Regions from separate parts of the Homo sapiens genome. Here regions 1, 2, 3, 4, 6 and 7 are each linked to region 5. Evidence: promoter capture Hi-C in 16 types of primary human blood cells and fetal thymus (Javierre and others, 2016). All regions are on one chromosome and are shown on one strand. The core of a region is centred on a gene start or on the middle of the fragment in contact, and the rest is flanking DNA. Distances in the headings are between cores, read along the strand shown.

Region 1 (3,845 bases), core at 104-2,603, 2.4 Mb before region 5:
TTCTTGCTCTGTTTCCCTCAACTCTTGTGTTTCACTCCATTAATTTCACATACCTTCCTAGTCATCCTGGATCCCTTATTTTTCTTTATTTGCCTTCCTGGCACTTACCACTTCTTAAAGATTAAATATTTTGTTTGCTGTCTCTCTGCTCCTCTAGCTTGTATACTCTGTAAGGAGAGAATTTATTTGTCTTGTTTCTACTCTGAAGTGTCACCAGATAAACATAGGATTCAAAAATTAACAGATGAAGTTTAGTGCAGTGAGTTTATGCTTTGAGCTATCTATTCTTAGATGTGTCAGTGATAGATAAAGTAGAACAAAGAAAACTAAAAAGATGTGATTGTACAGCAAACAGGATAAAAATCTTTACTTTGGAAGGCTCTTTGACAGTTTCTTATGAAATTAAAACATTCATTTATCCTATGGCTCAGAAATTCCACTCAGGCACTTACGCAGCAGAAACACAGAGTTAGATCATGACATCATTACATAAACTAGCACGCGGATGTAACATCTTGACTCATAGGAGCCCATAACTGGAAACAAATGTCCATCAGCAGGTGAATGGAAAACATTTTGATATATCAAGCAGTTAAATACTACTTGGCTATACAAAGGAATAGACTACCAATGCATGCAACAACACGGATGAATGTCAAAACCAACATGCTGAGTGGGGAAGCCAGACAGAAGAAAGTACCTACTTCACAAATCCATGAATAAATATTTGAGAAAAGGCAAACTAATGTATAGTGACAATAGATCAGGGCTTCTCTGTATCTGGGGTGAGGTGATATACTGCAGAGCACGAGAGCGAGAGAAGTTTTGAAATGATGGTATTGACTGTTGTGGTGGTGGTTTCGTGGATTTAATCATTTATCCAAATTCATTGAACTTTATACTTTAAAAGAGTTTATTTTATTGTCTGTAGACTACACTTCAATTAATTTTTAAAAAAGAGACAAAGAGTGTAGGAGAAAGTATTTACAACAAAAGAATTGTCATCTAGAATTTATTTTAAAAAATTCTTCAAATCAGAAGCTTTATGTGTTCAATGAGTAAATGTAATGCATAAAAACCTATGTAATGTAATACAAAACCTATGTAATGCAAAACCTATGTAATGCATAAAAATTGCCTGTAATGACACATACCAAATGGGAGAATTCTGAGACTGAGGAAGTTGGAGAACGGATTTTGGAAATGACTGTGACTGGAGCCTCATCTGGGCTCCCCATTTACAGCTTCCTCCATTGCAGGATGCCTGCAAGGCACCAGTGAAATTAATACAATTTGTTCTTAATTTGCAATTTATTTACTCGATCATACATCAAAGAGTTATTGTATTATTTTATTTCTGATAGATTTTCCGGAGTCTGAAAAATTAACTTTGTTTATTGCAAACATGTGGCATGATATATTTCTCTCTCAATCGGTGATTAATAAAGCAATGCAGTTAGTTGCCAGGCAACGTGCTAAAGGAGAGGTTCTGAACTGCTTGAGAGCTTTTCTTAATTGGGAAAAGGTGAGCCATATTTCTGTTTCTTACAGTATCTTACTTTTAGATATTATATAAATGTTAATTATTTTGTTGTGTATTTAGTTTTATATTAGTTCATAGGCATTTTCTTCTTTCTAGATCTTTTAAAATTTAATCAGTTTAGCCTAAGCTTATCCATTTTGTTAATTAAGAATGCATGAGACATTCAAGGAAGAATTGTAGACCAAAGGATTGTGTTAATTAACAGTTTGTGTTATACACTAATTTGTGACTGATGAAACCCACGCATAGGTGTATATGTTTAAAAGTCTCAGAGAAGCTACAAAATTATTTGGTTCTTCAATAGATACTTAGGTAAAAATATATATATTTCAGTTTTTTCCTATTAGGATTTTTAAAATCTAATATGCTTAATTTTTCTTTCCAGTTGATAGAATTTGTTTTTATGCTGACTAGTTTGTTCCCGTGTTATCTTTTATTATTATTTTCAGTTATTGATATGTTAAAGTAAGTGTCTAGATGGGTGTTCTTTCATCATTTTCTTTCATTCATTCATTTTACCTAATGAGAGTCTAACTACCGGTAGCGAACTTCAAGAAGAGGTACTGAAGCCAGTGATATTGATTTTTTAATTTTATTTTCTGTTTTTAATGAGCATGTATTTCCTCTTCTAAAAACTCCCCTGGGCTTATGTGTGGAGCAGAATTTTATATGCTGTTTTGCCTTTTTTTATTATTACTTTTGATGTTAGTATTTGTTAGGCTTTTATTTTTTATAAAACGTAAAGGAAAGAGCTTTTGGTGGTCAAAAGTTAGGTAAATATTAAAAAGCAAGTTTGTAATGATCTCTTCATCAATCTATCTAGACACAACAGAGTAGATTCATGTGAGGTATTGTCATAAATTCTAGTTGGTCATTTTGTGTCAGGAGAGACATCCTGACTCCTACTAATGGATACCAGCAACCACATATATATCTGCTCCAGAGGGCTGCCAGCTTCCGGAGAGTTACCTGCTTCTGGAAGGTTACCTGCCTCCAGAGACTTACCTGCTTTGAGGGTTACTGCCTTCCGAGGGTTACCTGTTCCCAGAGAATTACCTGCCTCTGGAGGGTTACCTGTTCCCAGAGAGTTACCTGCCTCGAGCATTACCTGCCCCAAGAGAGTTAACTGTTCCCAGAGGGTTACCTGTTCACAGAGAGTTACTTGCCTCCAGAGGATTACTTGCCTCCAGAGAGTTACCCGTTCCCAGAGGGTTACCTGCCTACAGGGGGTTACCTGTTCCTAGAGAGTTACTGTGTCTGGAGAGTTACTTGCCTTCAGAGGGTTACCCGCCTTCAGAATGTTATCTGTCCAGCCTGCTTCTGCTCTCACTTGGTCTTTCCACTTGCACACTAGAGCCCATCTCCTTTCACCTGTTCAGAATTAAGCAGGATATGGTTAAAAAGACATTACTTATGAAGAACATAACATTTTAGTAAATGTATTTGCTAAATATTGTATCAAATAAAAATACATAGAGCTTTAAGAAAGGTGAGAAATACTTGGGGAATAAAACCCCATTATATTACAGGATTTCCAAATACTCACTTACAGAATTAAACATCTGGTAAACAAAAATGAGGACATAGTACAGTTCATTAATTTAAAAAGTAAATGTGTATGAAGAATATGTATTTTTTATATATCTATGACACATTTGCACAAATGAATGATGAATTGGCCACATGAAAACATTCATTTCTAAAAGCAAAGATTTGACACTCAAAATTCCCTGGTAATAATTCAGTAAAATTTAACAGAAAAAAAATTCAAAATATTTACATTTACTTTGAAATTGAGATATACATTCTTAGACAATCTGGGAACAAATAAAATATGCAAAGTAAAATCACAGTCTTAAAAGTCAATGAAAAGGTAAACTCAGAATCAAATATCTCTAGCTTTTTTGGAAAACATGTACTCATTAAAGTATCTTAAATGTCTTAGTTGTTTAGCAGAAAATAAATGAAGTTAACTGTTACTCATCTTCAACATTAGAAATATGACAAGGGAACCAGAGAAAAAGAATAAATTTTAAGAGATAGTAGTAACTAAGTGGAAAAGAAACAGAAACACATAGAAGACAAAAATACTACCTTTAAAAAATGCCAGCAACATAGATAGCTGACAGTGCAGATCAGCAAAAACAGAGAAAAGCAAAAATAGTGAAGATTTGAAATGGGAAAGTAGACATATAGGACACAGAATGAGAAGACTACTACCTGCAGTCCTATAGCAGCAGATTTGGAAACAGGGTGATTTCCTGGCAAAATAAAAATGATGAATATTGGCTTTGGGGTAGAA
Region 2 (3,979 bases), core at 1,241-3,740, 2.5 Mb after region 5:
ACTGATGAGTAGATAAATGTGATCTATTTGTAAAATAGAATATTACCCAGCAGTTCAAAGGAATTAAGTACTGATGCATGGTACAACTTGGATAAATCTCATAAACATTAGGATAAGTGAAATAAGCCAGTCACAAAAGAACATATTTTCTATGATCCTATTTGTGTGAAATGTCCAGAATAGGCAAATCTATATATAGAGAAATTAGTGGTTGTCTGGAACTGGGGAGAGCAGATGGAGTAGGAAGTATCCACTAATAGTTACAGGGTTTCCTTTTGGGATGATGATAATGTTCTAAAAGATTATGGTGATGGTTGCGTAACTGTAAATATACTTAAAACAATTGAAGTCTTTAAATTGGTGAACTTTATGACATATATCTGAATAAAATTGTTAATTAAAACTACTGTGAGATATCATTACATACCTATTAGTGTGGCTAAAATGGTAATAGAATGACTGACCGTACCAAGTGTTTGTAAGGAGGTAGAGCAGTTGGAATTTTCATATACTGCTGGTGGGAGTGTAAAGTGGTACACCACTTCTTCTGGGGAGCAGAAAGCAACCTTCCGGGTACAGGTGAGCCAAGGTTGATGGGCAGTTATGCAGAGGGAGTTGGGATATCACTGTGTGTACCTGTGCAAGTCCTGGAGTGTGTTGGGTCCTCATCAGCAGGGCTGTATGAAGGTGTTCATTAAAACAAAACTACTGATAGTGTGGCAGGAGCTAGAAAACACCCCTTTCTTCTTAGATATCCCTCCAGCACCCTCTACTGGCAAAGTTTAACTGCCCCTAGCCAAAAGAAAAGAAAAGAAAAGCTTAGCATCCCTATCACTGAACAGGGACTGAAAGGGAGAATTTGGAGTTGAGAAGGGGATACATGGATAACTAGCTCATTACTGCTGAAATTGTTGGAATCATTCATTGCCTGTGCTGCTGAAGCTTGATGTTGCCCACAGCTGTTGGGCAGAATCTCCACCATGACTTGCGTATCTGTTAGCAGGAGTCTGCAGTACCTGCCATTAGCTGCAACTGCTGGTTTTTAGAAACAAGTAGAAAATGGTTTCGCTGTTTCTCTGCTTCTTCTTTATTTTTATTTTTGAGATGGAGTTTCGCTCTTGTCGCCCAGGCTGGAGTGCAATGGTGCGATCTTGGCTGACTGCAACCTCTGCCACCCAGGTTCAAGCGATTCTCCTGCCTCAGCCTCCTGAGTAGCTGGGATTACAAGCACATGCCACCACGCCCGGCTAATTTTGTATTTTTAGTAGAGACGGGGTTTCACCATGTTGGCCAAGCTGGTCTTGAACTCCTGACCTCAGTTGATCTACCCACCTCAGCCTCCCAAAGTGCTGAGATTACAGGTGTGAGCCACTGCACCCAGCCTCCCTGCTTCTTCTGATCTCACAGAAGTGCTTCTCATTGACAGACTCTAACTTAAGCCTAGTTGGCAAGGAGGCCAGAAAGTGCAGTTTTCAGGCTTCCAGGAGCAACAGTACAGGTGAATTTTTAATTTAGTAACGATAGTAATCTGGTGAGCTAAAATAAGTAAACTTTGGGGTACATAGAGAATTGGAATTATTATTATTATTATTATTTTTGAGACAGAGTTTCGCTCTTGTTGCCCAGGCTGGAGTACAATGGCACGATCTTGGCTCACCGCAACCTCCGCCTCCCGGGTTCAAGCGATTCTCCTGCCTCAGCCTCCCGAGTAGCTGGGATTACAGGCATATGCCACCACACCTGGCTAATTTTGTATTTTTAGTAGAGGTGGGGTTTCTCCATGTTGGTCAGGTTGGTCATGAACTGCCGACCTCAGGTGATCCGCCCACCTCAGCCTCCTGGGATTACAGGCGTGAGCCACTGCACCTGGCCGAGAATTGGAATTTTTAAACTGTGTTTGCAAGGCCTAATTCCCAAACCCACATAGTTTGTGTATGGGTATACGCTCACCCTCAAAAAGGAAATATTTTTTGTAAAATTTGAGCAGTTAAACATTTTTTTCTGCCTGTAATTGTAAAAGTAGCAATTAAACACTATCTACTTGGGGACGAGAAAGGAAGAAAAATTACCCATGTTCTCGTCTGACCAATTACAGTGGCTGTCTTTTTTTTGCATTTTCTTCTTTAGGCTATGGTGTTTTTACCTAGTTGGAAGTAAGGGAGTGTGGTCATTTAAAAATGTTATATCTCTTTCCATATTAGCAAATAGTTATATATACATATATATACTTTTTTTTTGTTTTTTGGTCTGTTGCCCAGGCTGGAATGCAGTCACGCAATTTCGGTTCACTGCAACCTCCGCCTCCTGGGTTGAAATGATTCTTGTACCTCAGCCTCCTGAGTAGCTGGGATTATAGGCGTGTGCTGCCATACCTGGCTAGTTTTTGTATTTTTAGTAGAGATGGGTTTCGCCATGTTGGCCAGGCTGGTTTCGAACTTCTGGACTCAAGTGATCCATCTTGCCAAAGTGCTGGGATTACAGGCATGAGCCACTGCGCCCAGCCTTGTATTTGCTATTTTTAAGGGACTGTATACATTCCATATAGTGAATGTGCACCATTTATATAGCCGCTTCCCTATTTTGGGCTATATAGGTTATCTGCAGACATTTTGAGTAATATTTTTAATATATTTTCAAAATTGTCTACTATAATTGTAGCTACTAATTGTAAAAATTTTATTGATAATTACATATTAAACATTCCTTGTTTACTTCAGCCAGATGAACAAGGTCAACATTAACAGTTACATGTGGCATAGTGCCACGGTTATTACTTGAGACTGTCACTATGACAGTTACTGCTGTTACTACTTGAGACCGTCATTATGAGACTGAGTGAAGGGGGACAAATGTAGAAATGAAAAATTAAGACAAAAGAAACTTTTAAAGGAAGAAAAAAGGGGAAGAAAAAGAGGGCTCCCTGCTTCTAGGGAGCAAAGGCAGCAGCCTAGCTTCCACAGCCCTTAGAATTTATTGGGTAGAAAGAGCAGGGGGGAGGTGATAATGACTGGTCAGCTGCTTAATTGATCACACGTTCATATTATTACGAACAGGCTTCAGATGTACCTAATCACAAGAAACTGAGCTTGGGGCGTGACTGCCTTCAGCATTCCTTCTGGGTGGCATAGGCAGTTTGTCAGTTTGCCAACATTCTGCGTTTATGAGAACAGTTTGCTGTTCACTCTTATAGCCTCCAGTGGTATACTGAGTTGATCACGACCCTCAGTCTTTCGGCCTCCAACAGTTACAAATCATGTTGATGGCATATCCCTTGATATGATATGATATGATATAAGATGCCACTTCATGTGATTTTTTTCCTTCCCAAAACCCATAGCCCCAGTCTATTCATGAATCATGCAATTTCCAGTAAACAGACATTCTACAGTGTACCTGACCAGTACTCCTTAAAATTGTCAAGGTCGTCAGAAACAAGGAAAATCTGAGAGACTGCCCGAGCCCAGAGGAGCCCAAGGAGACATGACAACTAAATATATGTAGATCCTAGAACAGAAAAGGGACGTTAGGTAAAGACTAAGGAAATCAGAATAAACCATGGATTTGAGTTAATGACAATGTATCAATATTGGTTAAGTGTAACAAAAGTGTAACAAATCCTAATAAGATGTTAATAGTAGGGGATATTGTGTGCTGGGTATATGGGAACTCTGTACTCTCTTCATATTTTCTGTAAGTCTAAGACTTCTAAAATCTAAAGTCTGTTAGTAATAAAAAATAATTCTTTGTATATTAAATTATCACTGATTTAACACCAGAAGGTAAGTGGAGAGATTTTGAAGTCTTACATCAAAGAACTTTCAAGATAGATAATAGCTTAAGAGTTATAACATGTACCCCAAAACTTAGAGTTTTATTTTTTTCCTCATACTAGGCACTTAGGATAAATTATTGAACTGTACTGTTGGCTAGAAAAACTTTGATGAAATGGGCTGACTTCCACAGTGGTGGTGGTTTTCTT
Region 3 (4,167 bases), core at 537-3,036, 2.5 Mb before region 5:
GTGCTGGGAGTCACACACATGCTGACTATGGCTGGCTGACCCCGTGACAGGGCGTGGGAGTAAAGAGGAGTCAGACAAACTCCTCAGTTTTCGGTCCTAGCAAGTGGGAGAACAGGGGCACATGCAGGCATCGTGCTGCAGGGAGATGCTCCTCGCAGGACCCAGGACAGAACCGGCTGCCAGGGATGGCAGCGACCATGATGGCTGTGGTGGGACAGGCAGACAGCTATCTTACCAACAGAACTCATGCTGCTTATATGTGGCGAGGAGACAAAGGAAAAAAAGGGAAGGACCAAGAATGATACCAAAAAAAAAAACCAAAAAAGTTTGATATTCAAAACTCTATCAAGGACATTTCCCATAGAAACTGGACTTGAATGGACCTTAGAGAACTGGTTGGATTTACTGCCTAGGATGGAAGGGGGTGCCACTTGCACGCCAAGCCCAATATTGCAGAGGGGCTGATTGGAGCTGTGCACTGTGAAGGATGAGAGCTGGGCACACACAACAACTGAGGAATTCATTGGGAGGTGAGTCAGAAGGAGGAGGAGGATGAAGAGGAAGAGGAGGAGGAGGGTGAGGAGGAGGGAGAGGGGAAGGAGGACGGGGAGGGAGGGGGAAGGAGGGGGAGGAGGAGGAGGAGGAGAAGGGGCTGCACATGCCTCAGCAAGGGCAGTACTGAGCAGAAGATGATCATAAAGTCACTTCCTCCATGTCTTGGTTTTTAAATCATTGCTGTCTGTGGGATTTGTCCTCTGGGCTCCTTCTTACCCCAGATGCAGTCTTGGGCACACACCCTAGCCTTTCCAGTCACTCGGAGACAACACAGTCCAGTGTGATGTGCTGTCACTTATTTCCTGTCTTCAACTTAGCTTCTTACCCATGGAGCTGGTGGCCGTTCTTAGACGCTAGCAAGATGGGTGTGGGTGGGTGGGAATGGGGCAAGACAGGCTTTTCCTCTGTTCCAACATTTTCCTTATTCACCAGCTTGTTTGTGACCCCTCCAAGCTTGGGGTAGGAGAAGGGATCAGGAGAAAAAGATGCAGTCTTTGTAACCTGGCTTCCCAAAGTGCTTGAGTCATAGTCCAAGAACAAAGAACAGGCTGGTGGGGTGGGCTTCTCTCCTGCAGCGAGCTCCTTGGGACGGAAGAGCATCTTCCGCACAGGACTGGGGCAGAGCTCAGCCAGGAGACCCACATTACACCCAGATTATTTTAAGAGAGAAAAGGTAAAAGCAAAACACTAAAATATCACAGGAGGAGCCACCGCAAGAAGCAGCTGACACCTTGGGCTGGAGAGAATAAAAGAAGGAGGAAGGAGTGAGCAAAACTCAGAAATGTGGAGGAGCTGCCACCCAGAAATCACACTCAGACATATGAAGAAGGGACCTTCTGGGCTGGTGCTGAGGCCTCTGCTCTTGGACTCAGGGCTCTGTGGAGCTGGGAAACCAACTTTGCTGGTATCTCCGAGGGGATGCTATGAGGCTGGCTCTGCGTGTGTCAGAGAAACTGCAGACCCAATTCGTATGCCGCTCTGTTCATGAACTGCCACTGCCAGGTGCGAAAGCAAGGATAGCAAGACGCTAGCAGGACCAGGAGTCGGACAGGACAGAATGGGAGGCACAGGCCCCTCTCCTACCTCTTATCTTCTGGTTTCCTTGTGTATATCTGTTGGCACAGCTGAACAGAACTCTGGCAGGAGAGGTGGCACGTGGCTCCCCAGTCCCTACGTCACAAGGCAGAGTATAAAAGGGAAGGTGTGGGGCCGAGAGACAGTAACTTAACCACCAGCTCAGGGTCCTGGGATTCATCCCTCTTCCAGTCAGCAGGAAGTGACAAAGAGCACAGGAAGGCCCTAGGGGCCAGGCCCCTTTTGCTGATGTTTGGCTGGTAGAACTTAATCACATGTCAGGTGCAGGGAGGCTGGGGAATAACTAGACAGAATAGAAACAAGTTTTGGTGAGTGGCTGCCACTGGTGCTGTGTGGATACAGTTCAAAGTGAGGACTTTCCAGCTGTGGACATCCAGCTACAGTTCTTTGAATGGGGGATGGAAGAGCAAAGTTTTATTTCTGGCTGCTCACTTTGCCTCAGCCTCGCTTTCCTCGCAGCTCCCACTGAAATGCCCACCGTATCCAGTATGCAGAACTCCTGCTCATCCCAGTGCGGGTGAGCATGCGGCTCAGTCACCTCCAACCCATCTCCTGGAGCTGTCCCACGGTTCCCTTGGAACCACTCTAGGGCATGTAGCATCTGACTCTGAGTGCTTCACTTCGTGGGGGCACTGATTAAAACAAAGCTCTGGAATATAGCATCATCGAGAGGCAACTGTTGATTTAATTTATTAACATATACATCCACTGAAATGGCTGCTAGATGTGGTCTAGAAACCAAGGAGACCCCCCACTGGCCTCAGGTGAAGGGGAAACATGTCCCTCCCTTTCCTATCCCTCCTCAGAGTTAGGTGGGACATGCCCTTGCCAGCTGCTCTACAGAGAATCCCCTCCTCAACACCTGTCACCTCTGAGCACCTGCCGCCTTCTTCCTCCGATCCCGGAAGCTACAAGAAGCTTCTCGTGTGACCAACTCTTACAGCCGCCAGGTGTTCACAAACCCGCAAGGCAGAGTGGGCTTGTCCTCCTTTACAGAGGGCGACTGCAATGTGAGAGTTGTGAAAGTCCTTTCAAATGTTGCTTTTTTTTTTTTTACTTTTCTCAATCAGCTTTCTCAGGTTGAAGAAAATTTTGCTTAATAATCATATCAGTTTTGCTTTCTATTTCAAACTAATTGTTTCAAAACTAAATTTTATTTGTCCGGTTTCTAAGTAACATCAGTGTTTCAGGAAGAAGCAACATGTTTACTCTCTGGCTTCAAATCACTTTGAGGGTAAGAGCTGAGGCTGTGAGCAAATTGCTGATGTCTGAGGACAAGTCGAAACCCCACCACTATAACCCTGAGTGTTGAGAAAAACTGGAGCAAAGACAGCTTAGGACTAAGCCTGGTGGAACGTGTGTGGGCGGATAGCAAAGTGGTTCCCACAAGACGCCTTCCACCCTAGGATGCCCCAGAGGATGGCCTTTCCCCTCAGCAAGAAGGTTCGGTTAAGTCCTAATACCGTCGGAAATTCTATTTATGTGGAAAACACACAGGGAAAGACAGACATCTTGTGGGCATATGGTAGCATTACATCACAGGTCTGGAAATTAATACCTAATAATCAGGGGGTCATATCATTGAATAACACACTGTTAGTCACAAACAATTCCATCAAACATCTCTCCAATTAAAAGAAACAAATGAACATATAGTTCATTTTTCTTACAGTTAAATGCATCAATTAAAAGCACAGCCTTGAACTTCCAAAGAATAGACAGCTTTCCATTTTGAGTTCTCCTTGGTTTCTAGACCATATCTATTAGCCATTTCAGTGGAAGTATATGTTAATAAACTAAATCAACAGTTACCTCTCAATGATGCTAATTCCAGAGCTTTCGTTTTAAGCAGACACCAAGTATCTGAGAGGTAATGAGCGTGTGGGGTGAGAAGTGAGACTTTTTGAGTTGGATCCTCTGAACAGCTGGCTGGATTCGACAGGCACAGGGAATCCCAAGACCAGAGACTGGAATGCAGACATTCCTCCGGGTCTTAGGGCTTCTCTGGCAGAAAAACAACAAGTTTATCTTGGAAGTTTGACAGGAAAAATGCTTTTAAAGAAAAAGCAAACCATCTTTTTCCTATGAGTCAGTTGAAGATATATTTATCTCCTTTCCAAAATGGATACCACCATCAATAAATTATTAATAACTATTTGTCTAGTGAATCCTATAGAGTGGGTCCCATCCTTGTCACTTTTTACTTAAATTACCGTTGGTCCTCTGTAAGGAAACACCAGCACAAATAGGTCATTTGCGTAAGAATTTAAAGACAGATGTGTGGTTCCAAAGCCATAGTTCACCACTTGCAGTATACACACTTGCTTGTTTGTTTCCATCGTGATGAAAAAACAGGTGTGGCCCATCATGCAGGAAAGAGAAAAAATGTAATTCTGACCATTCCTCAATTAGTGGCCTACTACATTTTCATTATGACCAATAATCACACCTGTTTTTTTACACCCTGCATGTTAAGAATGACTTTCACATTTTGAAGTTTCTTAAATAAACAGAAGG
Region 4 (3,888 bases), core at 1-2,500, 2.4 Mb after region 5:
TCACTATTTAGAATTTGGAACTGACAGAAAAGTGGACACTTGTCTATTTCCTTCCTTCTCTTTCCTTTGCTTTTGTGTTTGAGTGCACCTGCCTTACACCCAACTGTGCCTCTCCTTTTTTCAAACATTGTAATGAAGAATAAATACCCACTTTCTCTTAATACGATTGTGGTGGTTCTTTTCCCAGATTAAAGAGACTGGTGCTAACCTAGCAATTTGTCAGTGGGGCTTTGATGATGAAGCAAATCACTTACTTCTTCAGAACAACTTGCCTGCGGTTCGCTGGGTAGGAGGACCTGAAATTGAGGTAGGATGTTCCACGTGAAGAGACTTTGAGAAGTAGGGGTTCATCTTATGTGTTGAGGGGTGTTTTGATAGCCCTGCCTTAAATAACTGCATCACACCAAGGCTGGCAGATGAGGGGAGGGTGAGCTGGGAGAGAGGAAAGCGCTGGAATCTTTGTTACTGTTTGGATAACAGTGCTGTGTGTTTCTGGTGTTCCCTGGCATTTTGAAATTCTCTCCCTGTGTTGTCTCACTTGGCCCTGTCGTTGACTTACTAAGGCTGGAAGACCTGGTCTCATCCAAATACTAATGGCAGTCCCAGGCAACGGTGCCTCGGTGGTTCTCACTGCAGCGCAGTGCAAGGAACATGCAGGCTGGGTTCCCAGAGTGAGGGAGGGCTGCACAGATGGGAGATGAGGGTATGAGCTTAGGGGACGGGCGCCGGGTGATAGATCTGGGCAGCACCAAAGCCCCAATCAAGACGTCCAGCTCAAGAGCCTTGTTACCTAGCAAGGTGCTTTGGGTTGAACTGGAGATGTCTCGGTCAAAGTGGGGCAGCAGTTCTAGTGAACAAGTTGGTCTTAGATCAAGTTTTGCTCATTTGTGGCCCAGTTTTGAAAGTTAACTTCACCAGTACTGTCTTCATCCTTCTCCCTGACCACCCCAATTAGCTGATTGCCATCGCAACAGGAGGGCGGATCGTCCCCAGGTTCTCAGAGCTCACAGCCGAGAAGCTGGGCTTTGCTGGTCTTGTACAGGAGATCTCATTTGGGACAACTAAGGATAAAATGCTGGTCATCGAGCAGTGTAAGAACTCCAGAGCTGTAACCATTTTTATTAGAGGAGGAAATAAGATGGTGAGAATTCAACTATTTGTCCTATACTGTTGCTTATTTTGCTTCATGGTCTGGCTTTTTTGCCTGTGTGTATTTAACAGAGACACAGTCACCATAAGAAAAATAATCGTGGTTCTCAAACAATGACGTATCATGGTGTAAAATTACTGAAGACCATGTTAAATTGTTAATTTCACAAGGCACATTTGCCTTTCTGCTGTCCCTTAGAGTATACAATATACACTATGAGATTTTTATATCTTTTTAAATACTTAAACACAGTTTAAATATTCAAGTCCTGGATTTTAGAATGTTTGATACAGTTACATTAGGGGTTGGTTAAACTGCTAGCCCTAGCAACATAAGACTCATTTTAATTACAATATGGTATTATTACCAAGGATGACTTACATCTGTCCCTTAGGTAGAAAAAGGGAACCCAAGTGAATAACCATTGACGATCTCTGTTCTTTGAGAATGAGTTTTTAGCACATTGTGATAAATCTTTGCGAGTTTTGTCAGTTTTTGACTCTTGCTTGACCGTGTATCCTAGAATGAGTCACTGGCCGCCTCTGCCTCTTGAATTTTGTTAACTACATTGCAGGAAGGAAAGCTAGAAAGATAAATATTATCCGATAGTGGAGGCCATCTAAATATTAGAGCACAGCCTCTCTGTCTTTAAAAAGGTGCCAGATACTTGGCTCTAAATTGACTAGATCTTGATCACATTAATTCAGGCAAAGCTGTTTTCCTTAGATCATTGAGGAGGCGAAACGATCCCTTCACGATGCTTTGTGTGTCATCCGGAACCTCATCCGCGATAATCGTGTGGTGTATGGAGGAGGGGCTGCTGAGATATCCTGTGCCCTGGCAGTTAGCCAAGAGGCGGATAAGGTAAGGGATCTGTGCAGACTTAGTGAAAGATTCAGGCCTCGCTGATGGTGGAGACTGTGAAGCTGCGGAACAGCGAGGTGCTGGATGCAAAACAAGCATCGTGAGCTGTGTGTAGGTGACAGGTGTTTTAATCTAAGTTAATTCCCACGTTCCTGTATTCAGATTCTGGTTACCATAACCTAGCATTTCTCAGCTGTTTTCAGCCAGTTCGTCCTTGAAATAATAAATCTATAGTCTTTTAATGTTATTTGAAATTCAAAATTAATATTATAACTTAAAAATAAAGCCATAAGAGCTGCTGTATTTTGAGACATCTCTCACATGTATGTATACCCTCTGCCTGTATTCTGTGGTGACATTATAATATTCTGATAGATACAAAAATAAAGACAGCCTGTTCTTACAATTCTTTGTGAGCTGACTTTTCAAAGTATGTGATACAGTTGTGTTTTCACGGTGCCGCTGGGTTGTTTTGTTTCGCCAAGTGCACTCACCATACTTCTGTACCTTTCCAGTGCCCCACCTTAGAACAGTATGCCATGAGAGCGTTTGCCGACGCACTGGAGGTCATCCCCATGGCCCTCTCTGAAAACAGTGGCATGAATCCCATCCAGACTATGACCGAAGTCCGAGCCAGACAGGTGAAGGAGATGAACCCTGCTCTTGGCATCGACTGTTTGCACAAGGGGACAAATGGTGAGGAGCTGTCACGCCTCTGCGTGGAGGGGGGGGGATGTCTGATTTAAACTGAATAATCATCCACTGTATGTGCTGTGAGATGATGGTGTCTTTTTAAATATGTAAGCCCACTTCAGGTGTTCAAGTCCTGAATTTTAGAATGTTTGATTGCCGTAGGAATTGGTTAGACTACTAGACCTAGCAACATGAGACTCATTGTAATAACAGTAAAGTGCATATGGTACTATCACCAAAGATGACTTAGGTTTTAATCTCTGGTTTTTGGGAAGTAATGCCTTATTGCTGTTTTTACACAGATGTCTGTCAGTGGGCAGCATATATATAACAGCTCTGAAGTGGGCTTTAGTTCACAGTTCACTGTGTGGTTAATCCTGCACACTGTGGAGTGTTTTCTAAATGTAATATATAACCTCTGTAGCCACTTGTGTAGCTCGGCTCCCAAAAAGATATGGTGGCTGTAGCTTGTTGAAACAGTGGTCTCAGGCATTTCTGTACTAAATCAGGCCATGTCTGTAATCCATCCACAGAATGACAGCTTTTGCTTAAAGGTATAGGTACATTCTGCTTTCCATGCTCAAATTCCAAGGGTTTCAATAGTAGCAACTCTTTGTGAGGCAAACATTTAATGTTTCTAACTTGAATGCCTGGTTGTGCTCAAATTTAGCATTTCTAGGGCCGGGCGCAGTGACTCATGTCTGTAATCCCAGCACTTTAGGAGGCCAAGCCGGGTGGATCACCTGAGGTCAGGAGTTTGACACCAGCCTGACCAACATGGTGAAACACCATCTCTACAAAAAATACAAAATTAGCCAGGCCTGGTCAGGGCAGGCACCTGTAATCCCAGCTACTCGGGAGGCTGAGGCAGGAGAATCGCTTGAACCCGGGACGCAGAGGTTCCAGTGAGCTGAGATCGCACTGTTGTATTCCAGCCTGGGTGACACCTGTCTCCAAAAAAAAAATTAGCATTTCTAGATCTTTCTTGGAAATATCTTACATTTCAGCTGTGGTCAGATGGACTTACTTTAGATTTCCTAAGTTAGGGTATGGATACTTTGTGGGATAAGATGTTCCTGAAAAATGTCACCCTGTAGCTAGTCATTGAAGACAGTGCCCTCCCAACAGCTCTCTTTACCAGGTGCGAGTTCCAGAGTGTCCTTGGAAGTAATGAAATTACA
Region 5 (3,758 bases), core at 1,259-3,758:
CTCATCTTCGGATCACTATGGAAGAAAAACTAAAGGCAACATATTGCCTTTATATGTGACTTGAAACCACTGCCAGTTCAAAGGTTACTTTTTTCCAACTGTCAGAATTTATAACCAACTCACCTTGCAGCCGTTGAAGGAAAAGAGGCTTGAATATTTTTGCCAGAAAGTTGACTGGATGGCATTCATTAAGTGAACATGAATGAAGAAGTTTCAATAATGATTTGGGTGGAAAATAATTGAAATGAGTGAATAGCACGTTTTCCAGCTTTCTAAATAAAGCAGAGGCATTTGGTGGCAAATAATTGAGTTTCCCAAATGGTTCCATTAAGGCAGAAATCTGACGAGGTGAAAATTTTTCTGTTTGGCAAACAAAAGTTTCTGCCACTGCATTGAGGATGGGTTTTGAAAGAATCAGTTCTCTACTGCAGTACTCCATGACCCTGCAGACAACTTCAGGATCCAACGTGAGGCACACCGCAGCTACACGATGCTCTAGGGCTTTTGTAAAAAATGTGTCATGGTGCCCAAAATATATGAACGCCTCCAAGACTCTCCTAAGCTCCTCGTTAGTGAAATGTGGGACATGCCTCACGACATATTTGCCCAATTTTATAATCAGAGGAAATGCTTGACTTTGATCAAGAACCACCAGGGCAGTGAGCATTTGGCTAATCAATTTAGGACTCAGGTTGGAAACTATTGATAGGGAAAAGTTGTTTATCTTATTTAAAAATGTTTGGTGTTCATCCACTTTTTCAGTACATGCCTGCAAGATTCTATAAAGGGCCACAATATCCTCCGGGGTAAATGTTTCCAATTTTTCACCTTGAAGTTGATTTATAATGAGTTCTAGTGTCACACAACCTGAACTGTGCAGTGTAATCAGACTTTCCCCAAGAATACAAAGATTGCGAACTTCCATGCCACCTTTTCTGAGACGATTTTGGCATTCTGCCACCAGGTTCAGCAACAGGCTACTTTGAGGATCCACATGCAACAGAATCAGAGCTTGCAAAGCAGTCACTAAACTAGTGTTTGACAGCTGTGAGGGCTCCTTTTCAAACTGAAAGCATAAAGCTTGAAAGATGCTATTCTCCAGTATTTCTTTTGGCAGCCCTTGATCACCATCCTTTTTTTCCACTTCACAAATTCGTTGTAAAGCTCCTGCTGCCATAGTGTCAGGCAGGGTTTCCATCGTGCTTATAAAACTTAGCACTTCTTCTGATGAAGTCAAGTTGCTCAGTCTCCTGTAAAACATCTGACTCTCCTCATTTTTAACATTTTGTTCAAGCCTGTCGCAGTCAGATACTTGAGAGAACACTGGTCCACCGAGTGGATGAAGGTCATTTCCATTTTTCGAATGAAACTTTTTACAATGGGCATGATGGAATTTGACCCCGAAAGGCTCAGGTTGTCGTGAACACAACCAAGGGCACAGACGCTCCTTGACTACCTTGTGAACATGATTTAGAGGTTTATTTTTTAAAGCAGCCAGAGCTCTATGCATCTGAAAATCAGATAAACGATAAAGGTTCTTCCTCAAGGTGATTAATGCCATACCATCAGATTCTCAATTTGATAACTAAATTAAAAAATTTAAAAACACATGGTTAAATACATTGAGAACATGATTGACCCAACATCAATGTTTATGAAACTACAAACGAGTATCTGGAAAAAAAAAAAAAAAAAAAAAAAGGATGGTTAACATATAAACACCAGAGGGGCAAAGTCTCTGCATCCTAGAGTTAGAAGAGTGGCTGACATTGAACAATAACAATCGCTATTACTTGCTAAACACTGTTGTAGGTATTCTATTAACTTACACAGATTCAGTACTTTTACTATCATTTTACACGAGGAAGAAGTTGAAGCACAAAGTTACTTTGCCCAGTTTATGCAGGTGGTTAAGTGGCAGAGCTAGGGTTCAAACTCAGGCAATGTAGCTCTTAAGGGTGGCCCTTAAATGTTGGTTGAAGGAAGAAATTGCATTTGGATAGAAATCAAAGAACAGGTAAAGTGGGCAAAATTAGGCGAGGTTAGAGCAAGGCAAGGGTAAAAACGCGCTGGAAAGGCCCTAAGCTGTTGGTTTCCCCTCGGTGTCGGGAGAAGGTTAGTGTTGAAGGAAAGGGTCTACTTTGTCAATGGAAACAAGGTAGGAAAAGAAAAAGCAAAACATAGATCAATGAAGGGAGAAGGTGGGGCGGCCAGTCCAGATCTAAAGACGGTGCGGGGGGATTTGGCAACACGTGTGTGCAAGACAGACAGACGGGAGGCCCCGCGGCGCGTTTTCCTAGGAATGAAAGGGACCCGCGGGGCGAGCACCCCCAAACTCGGCGCCCCGGGGACCTGCGCTGAGACACGGGCCGGGCGGCGCAGCCTGAGGAGAAAGCCGGCCAGGTCTTTGACACCCAGCCGGACCAACTGCGCGGAGACCCCGCGTTGACACCTACCGCGCTCTGCCGGGCAATCACTCCGGGTGGTCGCGGAAGCGCCTGGGCGTCGTGGGCCTCCGTAGCAAACGCGGGGCGGGAGCACGACTCAGGGCGGCGCAATGTGATTGGCCCAGGTCCCCTTCGGAGCTTTCTATTGGTCCTGGGTACCGAGCATGGGCGCTGCGTCAGTGCGCGCTGGCGCAAGGTTGGTGGAAGTCGCGTTGTGCAGGTTCGTGCCCGGCTGGCGCGGCGTGGGTAAGCTGCCTGTCGGCTACGGTTCCCGGATTCCGGCCGCTCGCCCTGCACTAATCTCCTGGGAGAGGCGGCCCGGGGCGGGGGTGGGCAGCCGGCTTGCGCCCGTGGTTCCCACGCCCTTCGGCCTCCGGGGGTCGCCGCGGGCGCGGGCTGGGGCTCGGACTTGGCCTTTGGCCTTTGGCTTTGGTGTCCCCGGGAGCGTGTCCTTGGGCTCGGCGTCGGCCTCTGCCGCGGGAGGCCCCTGGGCGGCGTGGGGTCTCTCCTCATGTTCTGCCTTTGGTTCTAGGCGCTTTCCAGGCCTAGGGAAACCGCACTCGGGGACGCGGGGAACTGGGGAACATGCCGGGTTGGGGCGGCGCGCTCCGGGGAACCCGGGACGTTCCGAGCGCCCACCCGGCGGGACGCGGCCGTGAGTTCTGCCCGCGGCCGTGAGCTCTGCCCACCGCCTCCGCGCCGCTTCCGGGGCTGCTGGGGCCCGGGCCTCCGCTGAGAGTCGTGGGAAGGTGGTGCCGGATTGTGGGGCAGTAGCAGGGATGAGGGGTTGATTGATCCTGGGAAGCCCTCAGGATGTGTGTTTCATGGGAAGTGATAGAAATTTTAGCTGTAGTAAGGTTTTCATTATCGTTTCCACCGTTTTCTGTGAGCTGTCAATGTGTAGTGTTTTCATATTGTTTATTCACTCATTCAGATAACTTATCGAGTACCAGTTTCATGCCAGGTGCCGTTCTGGGCGGTTCATTCACCGAAAGCCAAGCTTTTGGTTTGGGTTTCAGTTTAAATCTGTCTCTGCAAATTGACAGCCCACCAATTTTAGCCGTTAGATGAGTATGGAAAAAAATCTGTGAGTGTCGTTTGTTTTACTACTGCTTATCTCTTGCGGAAAAACGTGTTAGTAAAATGTTTAAGTGGATTGGAAATATTTTTTCGTTATATGCACCCGTTTGTATATATGCCCATACACTCACATATTTTTGATTTGCATTAAATAATGAAGGAGAGTATGTGCTTCAGTTACCTTTAGTACTATGATTAGTTTGTTTAGCGTTAGGATCAAATAAGAACCAA
Region 6 (4,172 bases), core at 497-2,996, 2.4 Mb before region 5:
GAGCATCATACAAAGGGACAAACAAATTAAAGATATTAGAGAAAATAACAAGATTTGGAGGATAGAGCCAGATGTCTCAATATGCGTCTCCTAGGACTTCTCAGAGGGGAGAACAGAAACAGAAGGAGAGAAGGTGATCAAGACATGACAGAAGGGAACTTTCCTGAGCAGAGAACACATGGAATATTCATATTCATAGGGGCCACCAAGTGTTGAGCGTGATTTTTGTGTACAGTCTCCGTCTCTGACACCTTCGTAGGAAATATACCTAAAATCAAATGAAACAGACTGAATATTAGAGGGATGGATAAAAATATTCCAAGCAATGCTGACATTAAAGCAGTCATGTAAGGTAAAAAATAATAAAAGCTTAGAAATGAATTTACATTATTGAAATGTTGATTAAAAGTATAGTTTGCCATGAAGATACTGCTAGTATGTACCTAAGAGTGTGAAACGATGTCAAGCAATACTCTTGGAAATCTAGGGGGACTGGCCAAATCTATTTTCGTCGTGAGAGACTTCACAATGTTTTTTAGAAAGAGAGAGCAAAAGCAGACAAGGGATGGAATTGGAATCACAGTTCCAAATGGATAATTTATATACAACTGTTTGTAAACCACACACCTGGAGTTTGTTAAAATACTTTTCAAATGTATAAAAGTTGACTAGTAAGTGAACAATAAAAAATACCTACAATTTAATATGAGCTTTTAATAAAAATCCCCCTCCCTCTGCAAAAACAAAACCTGCAAAACTTACCTAATAACTAAACTCACATAAGACACACAAAAAACCTCTCTTTGGTAACAGAGAAAATAAGAATTGAAATACTAAACTGTTTTGAAAGTAAACAGTAGGGCAATATTTATTAAAATCTTTAAGATATAGCCAATTCCTTCACTATTCAAAGGAATATGTTAAGGCCTTACGTGATACATTGTCACTTTAGAAATAAATACGGAGAATGAAGTGTTTAACTGAAAGAAAAAATTGATGAAAATGCAAACTTAATGAAATAGGAAACAAAGCAATTGATTTAGGACAATTAAATCTGATAGCTGGTTCTTTGTAATGCTAGTGAAACCAACAACTCTTTGGTAAACTTTGATTAAACAAACAAACAGAAGGAAAAACAGCACCAGGATTGAGAAACAGGTAAAACTACAGTCAAGAAATTTCATAATTCACAAGTTCATATTCAGATGTGAAAATGTAAGTAGAATGGTCCATTTTCAAGGAAAACATGCTCAAATTGACTCAGAACAATTGCTACAAACCTGAACAAAAAATAGGAAGAAATTTTTAACAATAGTTAAAGATCTAACACCATAATAAATCCGGATAATTTATAGGTGAGCTTTGTAAACGTTCAGTGAAAAACTAGTGTCTCTGTTATTAATTTTTTTGTTTCAGAACTTAGAAAATAAGGAATGTTTCCATTTTATTCTCTTAGGCTAGCATAATGCTGTACCAAAATCAAATAGCATGCACACATGTTCTCAAGATTCAGGACTCTTGTGTTGTTAATATAGCTGCAAAAATACCAAATAAAATTTTAAGAAATTAAATCCACAAATTTAGAGTACAGACAAATTATGCTTGAAGATTTATCTCAGGAATACTACAGCTGGGTCAGAGAATGTTGTGATCATCTCAATTCAGCACGTAGTCCCAATTTCAAAAAATTGATGAGGTAATGGAAAAAAAATTTTAACTTGAGAAAGGTGAAACATTCAAAGTATAGTTATTACTGTCAAAAACAAGGCAAGCATGCTTTTTGTTTGTTCCATTTTTTTTTTTTTTTTTTTTTGTACTGGAGGCCTGAACCAGTGCAACAGAATAAATGCAGAAGAGTAGGATCTGTGAATACTAATAAAGAAAAGTTGAAATTGTCATTATTTCAGATGATACTACTAATGTAGAGAATTTAAAAGACTCAGAGTTGGAATTAGAAGTAATAGAGCTTGGTAAAGTGCTGGCATATACAATGAACATATACATTGTACCGTTATTAACCTGTTAGAAAAGGAATGGAATAAGAACAACCCATTCTCAAGTGGCACCTGAACCAGCAGATGTCTAAGAAAAGACCTGAAAGCAGTATACAGTGTTTCTGAGGAAAACTGAAACATTCCTTAAAAGCGTTAAGGAAGACCTGAGTACATAAACATGTTCCTGGATGAGAAGATTCAAAGCATAAAGATGTAAAATTTCCCCAAATGTATTTATAAATATACAGAAATATTCAAAGTCCCATAGATGTTTTCTATGGAAGAGCACAAGCAGATGGTTTATAGGGAAAAGTGTATGTTCAGAATAATACAATTTTTCAACAGGAGAAAACTGAATAATGATTACGCTCTAACAGATATTCAGTAACCTACCCTGATTAAAGAAGTGTGGTATGGATACAGAAAATGACAAAGCAATGAAGTAGAAAATAAATTAAATAAATAAATATGTAAGTCCTTAAATATTCATACATGCCTTAGAGTTTGATAAAGGCAGAATTTTAAAGGATCAGGGAAAGTTGTGCAATTCACTTGAAGGAGGTGTTGTCTTCACAACTAAGTGTGAAGTTAACGCTGAAGATGTTTTTCTGCTTTGTTGGGAATAGAGTGCTTTTATTTATTTATTTTTTGGGTCAGATTAGCAGTAATGAATGCTCAGTTACAAAGGCATAGCTCTGGATGATAGCCTCCATAAGAATGGAAAAGTAACTTTTTTTCTTTTTTTTTAAGGTTCCTTGTTTGCTGCTTTGGGTATACGTAATAAGCAGGGATCCTGGTCAGGTCATTTAAGCAAAGGGGATTACAGTATTTGGAAGCAGGCTTTTGGGTAGGTTATATCACAATGTAGATAAGCTACTCGATCACAGAATTTTGGAACTGAAAAATGGATATGGCTCACACACAGTGGCAATCAGAAGGTTGTTTTGGCTCAGGAGAGTTGGCAGTGTCCAGCCTTTCACACTTACCCGTGAACTGTCCTCCACAGTTGTCCTGCCCCTTTCTGTGGACTTCATTTTTTGAAGTGATGCAGTCTGCCAGCTTAAGTAGAGCTAATCTCTTACAAAATCTGTGATTCCCTGAGACATTTGGGTTTTTAAAGTTTGGTCTTTTAAGCTTCTCTTGAACTGGAGTAAAGATTTCACTAATATCAGTAAATGCTTAAGGTTAATTAAAAAACTTAAGTTCAAGGAAACTCTAATAAAACTTTTTAGGTGGCCTGAAAGTTGTATACATATACTTAAGCTACTTTTAGTTGAATTTTAATTCGTGTGGGTTGTCTTTTTATGCACATTTCACCACAAGCTATTCATAGTTATATTTTCATAAATACTTTTTGCTTTAGAAGGTTTTGAAATTTGTATTAATGTAGAAAAGCTTTAAAACCATAGTATAATATTCTTAATGTTACATTTATTTCATTAGGGCTGTCTTAGTTACAGCATCCCTTGGCCTTTCAATTTGAATTACTGGTTCTTAACTATTTTAGGAATTTACATCTCTTTGAAAATGTGTAAAAATTCCAAAGGTTTTACTTTCCTTATAAAAGTATGTGCTTCTCTGTCTGCTCGTGTGTGTGATGATCGGTTCCTACCCATATGTTCATACGCACACATTCCCGTACCGTCTCCCCTCAAGTCCATTGATGGATTACCTGTAATCCCTGAACTCCCCAGGTTAATTACAGCATGGTTAAGTCTAGTGACTTTTCTGATAACCTCTTATAACTTAGGGATGCTTCTCTACTCCTTGTAAAATACATAGAGCCCAGATCCCTTATCAGTTATTAACTGTGCTTCCTTCCCCCATCTCAAAGCACTCTCTGGTGAAAATATGTGGGCCAAAGATTCATTTGTCCCATGCATACATAAAGAGGTAATAAAAGCCTTTCACAGCAAGTACACATGGTCTTTTGAATCCCCTGCCTCTGCCACCAATTTTTTTTTTAAAAAAGCAAACAAAAGTACCTTCAGCCTTCAATTTTTAGCTTAAGTATTGCAGACCTTTTTATCAGTAACTGACTGTATTGTGCACAATGGTTGAGTTTGGGGAAGATGTATATGTAATTTTCTAAGTCCCTAATAAACCCTGATTTCACAGAAGTATGTTCTGGCCTTGTGTACGGTGAGCCAAATGACGTGACTTTAATGCTTTGCTCTG
Region 7 (3,709 bases), core at 112-2,611, 2.4 Mb before region 5:
TACTTTTATCCCCAGGAATGTAAGGCTGCTTTATCATTAGAAAATCTATTGTAGTTCACTGAAATTAATAAATAAAGGGAGAAAAATACATATTCAAACTAAATACAGAAATTTATTTGATGAAGATTGATACCTATACATGAAAATCTTTTAGCAGACTGTGTGTAGAAGTTTCATAACATGATTAAAGGATATCAACCAATAACCTGGAACAGAGCAAATTTAATTAACTAATTCCAACTTTTAAGACAAAGACACCTGTTATTACCCTTACTATTCAATATTGTGCTGAAGCCTTAGTCAGTTCAGGAAGGAGGGCAAATGAAATGTAGGCATGAGTAAAGGTAGGATAAAATTATCAGTGAATGTTACAACTATTCACATAACACACCCAAGAGAATCTGCAGATAAATTATTCACTGCTGGATTTACTTTGCATATATTTTATTTAGATCTTTTGTGTGTATGTTTATAAGTGACATTGTTGTAAAATGAGCTGGTCTTACTGTAATCAACAAACAAAAATTAGTAATATTTTTGCATACCCTTAAGAACCAATTAGGAAATGTAATATAGCAAAAACAGCAACATAAAGATAGTACTCATGCTAGTGGTAAAAACAAATTAAGCTAGGGTGTAAAAGCTAACCAGGATGTAGAAAACATCCTTCAGGAATGCGTAGAGGAAAAATAGAAAAAATTATCACTGTGTGTGTTTTGATTTCATTATATGCTGCCAAAATGCTCTTCAAATACTACCACCCATAGTATGAATTGTATTTTCCTTACATCCTTACCAATATGTTTATTTTAGTCTAGCCTAGTGGATGAAAAGTAAATTTTTGTTATTTTAGTTTTGCATTTCCTGATATGAAAAAGGTGGAATACGTTTTTTAAAAAATGTCTATTGACTATTCCAAATTCTTAATCTGTGAATTGACAGTTTATATCCTTTACCTTTTTCAGTGTAAACCTCTGAAATGCATAAGTCTGGTCCAGCAGTACCAGTATTTGGGCTTTATTCTCAGGAAAAATAGAACTGTTTGACAAAGGAATGGGCAAGGAAATTCATGGCATGCTGTCTGTAAAGACTGGAAAAGGACCTAAACCTCCCTCAACAACAATTTGATAGATGGAGTACATCCAAAAATATATTTTATATATGTGGTGGCAGTTCTGAAAGTTGAAAGTTAAAAACACGCTGAGTGATTTTTGACAGATGGTGAGATTACAAGAGAAACTATGCATTTGACTTTATTTTAATGTGTAGATGTTTTAACAGATATGTAACATAACTGAGAAGAAAAGGCAGACATTATCATAAAGGGAAATATTACTGTAACTATCAAAATCATTTGGATTATCTGGAAAACTATTGGGATAATCAGTGAAAATTGAACATAGTTTGGATAATTTCAAATTATTACTTGGTGTAATTATTACTTGTGAAGGGCTATTGTGGTTATGTTTAAAAGTAAGTCCTTATTTCTGAAGTATTTAGTGATGGAAAAAGGAGACATTAAAGGAAAGAAGTTAATGAAAAGAAAAAATTAGCTCATTTTAAAATCTTAGGAACATTTCAACAGTGTAACTAAGGATGTTTTTCCTTTTGGGTTGATAGCGGTAATTTAGAGCCAAATTTGTGTTTTTTTTTTTTTTTGTTTTGTTTTTGTTTTTTTTTTCGAGATGGAATCTCACTGTCACTGGAGTGCAATGGCACGATCTCGGCTCACTGCAACCTCCGCCTCTCAGGTTCAAGTGATTCTCCTGCCTCAGCCTCCTGAGTAGCTAGGATTACAGGTGCCCACCAACACACCTGGCTAAATTTTGTATTTTTAGTAGAGACAGGGTTTCACCATGTTGGTCAGGCTGGTCTTGAACTCCTGACCTCAGGTAATCCGCCTCAGCCTCCCAAAGTGCTGGGATTATAGGCATGAGTCACCGCACCCGGCCTAGATCCTTATATATTTTTTCACTTAATCTTAGTCCATTTTAATATTTCTATTCATCTCCCCCATGGTTTCTTTTTTGTTGTTATTTTTTATGATTTATGTGTCTTTTGGGGTAGCCTTAAATCCTCTCAGAAACAATGCAGGGTAAAGATTGATGATTAATAGCAAACTAAAAATAGTTAATATTTATTGAGCTCTGTGGCTAATTGCACACAGTAAAAGCATATTTACAACTAACTACCTTGCTGTTAAAGGAGTACTATCATTCAGATAAACAGGTTTGGAGAGAGGCACCATAGGCTCAGATTGTGCTCTACACAATATAAGTAATGCATTAACATTTCTATGTTTATATAATTATTAAAATTCTTAGATATGATAAATAATGTTACAGACAATAATTATATTTAAAGTAATTGATAAAAAAGCTGACTGTGGCTTTTTTTCTTTCAGAATTTGAATGAATATGTTGAAGCATTAATTACCTTGAAACAAAAAATTATCAATACAGAGTAAGTATATTTGCATGTCGTTTGGCAGAACTTTGTAAACCTGACAAACTGGCTGAAGCAGGCGGTGCTTTTAGGCCCCCAGGGCTGGAATGAACACTAGAGTTTCTCCTTTGGAGGCCTGCATGGTACTGATTATAATTCCCCGTGAGCTTTGGGACTTGAACCTTTTGTTACAGGTTCACAGGCCTTTAAAACAAAGCTCGTGGGTTAGTAGGAAGTTGTTTTTACCAAACTGGACTTCTTAAAAAATCTGTTTTCTGTCTTCAAAGCCTTCTTAGCTTTACTGCTGGACCTCAAACCTCCTAACAGTATTTTATAGCCATGGTGTGAGATTTCCTATTTTTTTTGTTTTCAGCTTTGTAATAGTCTCATGAATGTATGAGCCAAGATACTACTCAGATCTAAAGGTTTCTAAATAAAAGGCTTGTATATCAACGTGATGCTTTTGAGAAATTTAAGGTGATATAGTCATTAATTTAGCATGCATTTGTTTCAGGAAATCTAGGAAGTCTAGAGGGTGCCTTGCATGGATTGAAACATAATTTTAACATAGTATATTTTCTAAATTAAAAAGTAACCTAATTTTTCTTTTCTTTTTTGCAGTAATTTGTTAACAGAATATCAGAAGAAATGTGATGATATCCTTTTACTGGCTTTTTCTGTTGAGTTTTGGAACTAACTTATGTTTAATTCCTGAAAGAGATGTGAGAATTGTTCCTCATAGGCCTTCTGGAAGATAGTACTTAACAGGCTTCAGTAGGGAGCATGTCTCACAAGCACAGTAAACAGACAGTCCTTTTATTCTTAATCCATGTTTAATGATGAGTTTTAAAAATGAGATTACTTTTCTTGTTGATTGTGATTTTCTTAACGTCTCATAAGCTTTTTAGTGGGTGGGTTTCTCTTAATTTGTACTGAGGATGTGGCATGTTTTTTAGGTTTACGAATAATGTGAAACTGAATGTGATACTTGCTGAATGTTATTTTTGAATCTGCAAGAAGTACAGTATGGGAAATTCAAAATGTTGGGCAATTGACTTTCATTAATTATTTTTGTGATTTACAGGGAAATGTGTGTGTATATATATATCTCCAAAATCATAGAAATAGCGTTGCTGTATATTCATGAACGCTGTGGGCAGTCAGAAGACAATTCTTGGCCTTACAGTCACCACTTGTTCGGTAGCCATTTAATGAGCTCGGTTGTGGAGTTAGTGTCTGGTCAGCTATTTTTTTAGCAGTGGGA

The links. The method cuts DNA at HindIII sites, captures the fragments that hold promoters and counts their contacts. A CHiCAGO score of 5 or more calls a contact.
Region 1: a fragment that was not itself captured here is called in contact with the fragment with the promoter of FASTKD3 in region 5 in 8 of 17 cell types (total CD8 T cells, total CD4 T cells, total B cells and 5 more); the score reaches 18.2 in total CD8 T cells.
Region 2: a fragment that was not itself captured here is called in contact with the fragment with the promoter of FASTKD3 in region 5 in 5 of 17 cell types (naive CD4 T cells, naive CD8 T cells, activated CD4 T cells and 2 more); the score reaches 10.4 in naive CD4 T cells.
Region 3: a fragment that was not itself captured here is called in contact with the fragment with the promoter of FASTKD3 in region 5 in 9 of 17 cell types (naive CD8 T cells, non-activated CD4 T cells, total CD8 T cells and 6 more); the score reaches 21.2 in naive CD8 T cells.
Region 4: a contact is called between a fragment that was not itself captured here and the fragment with the promoter of FASTKD3 in region 5, in 7 of 17 cell types (total CD8 T cells, total CD4 T cells, total B cells and 4 more). The highest score is 12.8, in total CD8 T cells.
Region 6: a contact is called between a fragment that was not itself captured here and the fragment with the promoter of FASTKD3 in region 5, in 6 of 17 cell types (total CD4 T cells, naive CD4 T cells, naive CD8 T cells and 3 more). The highest score is 10.7, in total CD4 T cells.
Region 7: a fragment that was not itself captured here is called in contact with the fragment with the promoter of FASTKD3 in region 5 in 7 of 17 cell types (naive CD8 T cells, total CD4 T cells, non-activated CD4 T cells and 4 more); the score reaches 20.0 in naive CD8 T cells.

Annotation. Positions count from the first base shown.
Region 1 is chr5:5,467,464-5,471,308 of GRCh38, forward strand. It overlaps ICE1 (interactor of little elongation complex ELL subunit 1), which reads left to right. Exons shown (of 19, transcript NM_015325.3): 15 at 1,365-1,525. Among named protein-coding and RNA genes, the nearest start is that of ICE1, 47 kb to the left of the region's middle. The HindIII fragment of the contact is 629 bases long and covers 1,040-1,668 here.
Region 2 is chr5:10,363,720-10,367,698 of GRCh38, forward strand. The region is part of intron 1 of MARCHF6 (membrane associated ring-CH-type finger 6); the gene reads left to right. Among named protein-coding and RNA genes, the nearest start is that of MARCHF6-DT, 12 kb to the left of the region's middle. The HindIII fragment of the contact is 3,100 bases long and covers 941-3,979 here.
Region 3 is chr5:5,416,387-5,420,553 of GRCh38, forward strand. All of the region lies in intron 2 of LOC101929200 (a long non-coding RNA gene), which reads right to left. Among named protein-coding and RNA genes, the nearest start is that of ICE1, 4.2 kb to the right of the region's middle. RefSeq lists an enhancer at 2,897-2,966. The HindIII fragment of the contact is 1,560 bases long and covers 1,007-2,566 here.
Region 4 is chr5:10,260,605-10,264,492 of GRCh38, forward strand. CCT5 (chaperonin containing TCP1 subunit 5) reads left to right here. Exons shown (of 11, transcript NM_012073.5): 7 at 188-307; 8 at 956-1,141; 9 at 1,877-2,014; 10 at 2,530-2,710. Among named protein-coding and RNA genes, the nearest start is that of CCT5, 12 kb to the left of the region's middle. The HindIII fragment of the contact is 8,542 bases long and covers 1-3,888 here.
Region 5 is chr5:7,866,523-7,870,280 of GRCh38, forward strand. It overlaps FASTKD3 (FAST kinase domains 3), which reads right to left and starts at 2,509. Exons shown (of 7, transcript NM_024091.4): 1 at 2,457-2,509; 2 at 124-1,674. The coding sequence starts at 1,561. It overlaps MTRR (5-methyltetrahydrofolate-homocysteine methyltransferase reductase), which reads left to right and starts at 2,626. Exons shown (of 15, transcript NM_002454.3): 1 at 2,626-2,693. RefSeq lists silencers at 2,519-2,958, 2,969-3,018, 3,079-3,128. The HindIII fragment of the contact is 2,367 bases long and covers 1,079-3,445 here.
Region 6 is chr5:5,450,372-5,454,543 of GRCh38, forward strand. All of the region lies in intron 10 of ICE1 (interactor of little elongation complex ELL subunit 1), which reads left to right. Among named protein-coding and RNA genes, the nearest start is that of ICE1, 30 kb to the left of the region's middle. The HindIII fragment of the contact is 2,759 bases long and covers 368-3,126 here.
Region 7 is chr5:5,434,014-5,437,722 of GRCh38, forward strand. ICE1 (interactor of little elongation complex ELL subunit 1) reads left to right here. Exons shown (of 19, transcript NM_015325.3): 2 at 2,405-2,463; 3 at 3,067-3,101. Among named protein-coding and RNA genes, the nearest start is that of ICE1, 13 kb to the left of the region's middle. The HindIII fragment of the contact is 3,964 bases long and covers 1-3,343 here.